2 separate regions of the Homo sapiens genome follow, and region 2 is linked to region 1. The links are contacts of gene promoters, found by promoter capture Hi-C in blood cells and fetal thymus (Javierre and others, 2016). All regions are on one chromosome and are shown on one strand. The core of a region is centred on a gene start or on the middle of the fragment in contact, and the rest is flanking DNA. Distances in the headings are between cores, read along the strand shown. Region 1 holds the start of CSTF2 (cleavage stimulation factor subunit 2). Region 2 has its middle 4.1 kb from the start of ZMAT1.

Region 1 (2,700 bases), core at 201-2,700:
ATTACAGGCTTGAGTCACTATGCCCTGCCTAAAAAACATTTTTAACGAAAAAAACATATTTTAGGTAAGAATAAATGTCAATTGTATAGTGTATCAATTATATCTCAATAAAGCTGTTACAAGAACAAAATGTATGTGAAAAGTCACCAGTAAAGAAAACCTGCCATTATTACTAAGAGCCAAATCTGTGGTGATTTTTAAGAAGCTCCCACCATGAAGGAAAAGGGGATCTCACCTGAAACTAACAACAGGTCCAACCTCAGAAAAGATGTCCTTCAACTGCTCTTCAGTAGCTTCATAAGGAATGTTCCCCACTAAGGAAGAAAATAGGTAACATTAAAATTCTGAGTTTATAACATAGATCTTTAGTGAGAAAGTAAACTTATATCATCAAATATAAGACTCAAAATAGTGTTCTCCAATCCCAATTCCATTGTATTTCTTCAGACCTCTTAACAAAGGAAATATACCACTGAAACTAAATACAAAATGTGTAGGTACTCTCAAATGTTAGTTCTCAGACTGATCTGACACGTGTTAGATTTTCCTTAACTTTGGTGCAAATAAATACTTTGGCACTGGTATTTACCTAAAGATCTGCAAGTCTCATCAGTGACTACAAAAAATATCAATGTTATTTAATATAATTTTTAAAACAGGTTCCTATGTATTTCCACACATACAACATTTAAGGGAGAATGACGATGAATGTAGTGAAAGATGTTTAAAAAGTATTCTGAACTACTTTGTCATGTCCCTTTCAAATGGTACTCTAAAATAATCACACGTATTTTTAAAAACAACTTATTTCAGCCAAAAAGATAATTCAGAATCGTTTCGATCCTTTTTAAAATTCCTCTGAGGAGATCTTAATAGTTCATTCATTCATTCACTTACAAGCCATCTCAGGACACCAGGTGGCCGCTACCACTATTGATGCACTAAAATGTTACAGATAAAAAGCAAAGGATGAAAGTCCTTAGGAGAGGACAGTAAGTGGACACTAGGATCTATACCCTCAGCATATAGTCTGTATTCTGGGGCAGAGGATGAGAAGTAGTACGGGACAGTGAGGAGCTGTTACCGTGAGCCTTCTCCTCTAGAGAATAATTGAAGCTCATGAAAGGAGAAACGCACAGAAGCTGAACGCTAGTCTAACTTCCCCACTGATATTGCGGAAAGCCTACGAGACCTCGGCAGAATGGGAATATCTCTTTGCTCATGAGTCCACCAGGTTGGACGCCCTACAGGATAAGCAGGGAGAACTGCACGTCCGAACCGTCAGCGGCTCCGGTAGCGATTCATGAGATAGAAGGTGCAGAGGGGAGTCCCTCCCCGAAGCTTGACTACAACGAATTCCTCTCACCGAACACAGAACGTAGAGAACGATCCACCGCTGGGTCTCTCACAGTCAAACCCGCCATAGCTCTGTTGAGTCGGCTTCCGGTGCGCCAAAGCACACTTCCGTACGGAGCACAAGCCCAGCGCTGAGCACGCTTCCGTACGGCGCGTGAGCCGGAAGGGCCTGGGCGGAACGGACGCAGAGCCCCTCCCCTGGAGACATTCTGTTAGCCGCAGGCGCGAGTTGCGTCCACCGGAGGGCTATATTCTCACTCCTGAGATTAACTCTGTTCCGAGCCAGATGCAGGCGAGTCCAGGCTAATTTGAAGGGTTTCAGCCTGCAGACTTCCTTCTTATTAATTTTCTCTTAGGTTGATGCAAGTACTCCTCAACCACAATAAAGGCGCAGCGGCTTTACCATGGTAACAGGGAAGTCCTTTGCTGACAACTGTGGGGCTTGCATTTTAGTTCCGCCCTATCAAGGGAGGGAAATGCTTGGGCCCGTCCCAGCAGCGTGCATATTATTTGCTAAACCTGTTCGTGTGTGGAGTGAGATGAGGAAAGGGCATGCCAGCCGAGAGAAGCATAGTTAAAGAAATGGGAGAGGTAAAGGGAGAACAGACCTCTGTCCTCGTGTAGTCCGTGGGTTCCATGTGCTTCGTGGTGGGGCGGTGCGGCAGGGGATTCTGGCAGGCAGAGTATCGGAAACAGAAAACGTCATTCATCGGTTTTTCCACACTTTGGTGCCCACGCGCCTGGGATATGGCATGCAGGGCAGGTCGTTGTATCATCCCGGAAAGGCAGACCCTGCCGGGGTTGGAGGAAATCCAGGGGGCACCTCAGGAGGACAGGGTTAGGGGATAAGCAAAGGAAGGAGCCAAGAGCGCTACCTTTGAGGGACTTGTCCGAAAAAGGAAGACGGTAAAATAGCCACGGAATTGGAGGCATGGACGTTTTTATTAATTCCACATGTATTAAAAGTATATGGGCCGGGCGCGGTGGCTCATGCCTGTAATGCCAACACTTTGGGAGGCCGAGGCGGGCGCATCACCTGAGGTCGGGAGTTGGAGACCAGCCTGGCCAACATGGAGAACCCCTTTTCTACTAAAAATACAAAATTAGCCGGGCGTGGTGGCGCATGCCTGTAATCCCAGCTGCTCAGGAGGCTGAGGCCAGAGAATCGCTTGAACCCGGGAGATGGATGTTGCGGTGATCCGAGATCTGCCATTGCGCTCCAGCCTGGGCAACAAGAGCGAAACTCCATCTCCAAAATAAAAGTATATGAAATATGATAAATATTTAGAAAAAATTAATAAGTGCTAGTTTACACCATGAAGCATATCACTTTAAGAAGTAATT
Region 2 (2,700 bases), core at 198-2,697, 1.1 Mb before region 1:
ACCCTTTATCAATAACAAAAAAATTGGCTACAATGACATTTATTCTGATGTTCTTTACATCCAGAAGATGATTATTAGCTAGGTTTAGGATCAGTCTTAAATTTTAAAAATCTAATATACACTATTACATGTCAAATTACTTTTATTTATCTTCATTGTCACTTGAATGCGGGGAACAGTTTTTATCCAAAAGAACAACTCTAGACACCACCTGGAAGGAAAGTTGATGCCTTTTAAAGCAAGACCTGCATGGCGATATAAAGAGGATGAATAACATAAAATATAAAAATCAGAGATCAGAAAGGCACATGAAACAAAGGAAAATGGAGTGATGAAATCGTTCACCGACTCCATACTCCACAGAATGATTAAGTGACCAATGTCTAACTACATTCTTCCTTTAACCAATTATAAAGAAGCTTAGGTTAAAGGAAGACACTTCCCTATGGTTAAAGTCAAACAGTGAGAATGTTCTGGAACTTTCTAGATGTTTACATAGAAAGGAAACATTAAGAGTGATTCTGGCATAGATCTGGATACGAAATCACATGCTAGGATATTTCCTTCAGACCCTCTCTAGGCTGACAACATGTGCGTGTGTCTGTGATGAGGGTAGGGAGCAGAGAACAAGAATGAGAATATATGAAAGTGTACACTATGAGACAAATACATTAGGCATACACAGATCTATTTTTATAAAAGTTCTGTATAACTTCTTTTTCATTTAAATATATGTATGTATATACATTTGACAACATTTCATATCAATAAAGATAAATTTCTATAACTTCCATTCCCTACCAGGTACATCCTGTACTATTGTAATTTTATCTATCACTATTAATCCTGAAACAATGGGGAAATATATGCATTAATTAGCATATAGTTTCATCTTAAGCCTGACTTACCACAGGCTATCTACTCATAGTATTTTCATATATACTTTCCAGATATATTTTATGTGTGTTTATATATAATTCCAAGGCTATATGTTCATATGTGCAAATACATTTTTGTTCAAAATTGAGTCACATTATACATACTGCTATTGTCTGAATGTTCCCCAAAATTCATATGTTGAAACTTAATTGTCAATGTAATAGTGTTAAGTGGTAGTGCCTTTGGGAGGTGATTATTTGTATATCTCAATGTATCTTTTTATTTGTCTTTAATTTTAGTATTGTTAAACAACTTTGGATGTTTGCCATTGCTTCTCACTTTTGAATCATTTGTTAATAAAATTAAACATTACTATTATACCTAGTCAGATTCATGCCTATGTCAGTCATATTACTTATATGCTATTAAATTCTGTTTGGATTATTTCTCCCATTTTCTGATGCCTTTAAATGTATTGTGTTTGTTGATAATGGCTTTTCAATTTCCCCATATTATTCCAAATGAGGTATTTTATATTTCACTGCAAATATAGTGAAATGACCACTGGTATGCTTTTTGTTTTTTGCTGATTTCTCACATATGCAAAAATATTCTCTCATTTCTTTTTAGCACCTCTACCCCTACCTTACACGCAACTTCCCTCCCCTAATCCCACCCTTGTTTCCTTTCTATGATTTGGGGGATTGGTAGTTGAAATTCATTTCAATTAATACAGTCTCCTCCCTGTGGGTCAATGATATAAACAGACCATTTTAATCAATAAGTAAAGAACCATGGAGAAGTTATTTACACTCATGAGACTGAGTTTTGCGTTTTTAAATGGAATTAATGAGCCCAATATAACATCACTTTTGTGAGAAGACTGGGAAATTCTAGGAAACATCTGGCCCATAGCAGGCTTTCCTTAATTGCTACTCTGTGCTATATTCCACCTCCTCTTTCCTGTGAGATAAATTACATTGGCATTCACTTAATAACATTACTGTCATTGAGAGCAATGATAAGTATAAGAGGAGGGAAAGGGAAGTGTGTGCTTATTGTCACAGTGCATGACTGAGGTTTGGTGGCATTTTCATGTTATGGCATGTCACCAAATGCAGCTGAAGGATGGGGAGAAAATTAACTAATAATTTTATTTTATTTTGTGCATTATCCTACCACTTCTTTTTACTGTTAAAGTGGCAGAGACAGAATTTTCCGTGGATCCTAAGAAGGACAAAGTAATTCCATAATTTAATATATATTTGTTGACTGATATAGTTGTTACTGTCAGACAGAGGTCAGGGAACTGCAGAAAACCACTGCTAATCTCACAGATCCTCCAAAGCCTTTGAGTACAAGACTTACAGAAGAATGCTAGGGTCTGAAAAAAAATTTGTTTTATATCTGCCAGATTCCACATAAAGAACAGTTTTTATTTCCTTTCTATTTAAAAAATATCATACAAATACATAGCATTGGTGATACCTAAACCATATTCAGAATCCTGCTGGCAAGAAGTTTAGGAAATGTAATTCACAGGATTCCAGCTTCTGCAACAAAGGAGAGAACATAGACGAGGATGAAAAAGCTTCCAACTGCCAGATGACCTTATCTGCGTAAGTCTCCTGGATTTTACTTCTTTAACCTTTCTGATTCTTTTAAGTACCTGATATTCTACATTAAATATTTTCTGTTTGAAATACCTAGTGTAGTTTCTTTTTTGCTGACTGAATCTTGAGTGATGCCCACTCCTCCAGAGATTCTGAATGAATATTTCTTACCTAAGTGGATTGTGATTCATATTTCAAAAAACAATGT

Evidence for each region. Contacts are between HindIII fragments. The CHiCAGO score rates a contact against its expected background, and 5 or more counts as called.
Region 2: a contact is called between a fragment that was not itself captured here and the fragment with the promoter of CSTF2 in region 1, in 2 of 17 cell types (activated CD4 T cells and total CD8 T cells). The highest score is 5.7, in activated CD4 T cells.

The regions. Positions count from the first base shown.
Region 1 is chrX:100,819,141-100,821,840 of GRCh38, reverse strand. CSTF2 (cleavage stimulation factor subunit 2) reads right to left here and starts at 1,450. Exons shown (of 14, transcript NM_001325.3): 1 at 1,367-1,450; 2 at 236-314. The coding sequence starts at 1,424. RefSeq lists enhancers at 1,219-1,378, 1,659-1,708, 1,719-1,778. The HindIII fragment of the contact is 13,366 bases long and covers 1,344-2,700 here.
Region 2 is chrX:101,934,748-101,937,447 of GRCh38, reverse strand. No RefSeq gene overlaps it. Among named protein-coding and RNA genes, the nearest start is that of ZMAT1, 4.1 kb to the right of the region's middle. The HindIII fragment of the contact is 2,051 bases long and covers 422-2,472 here.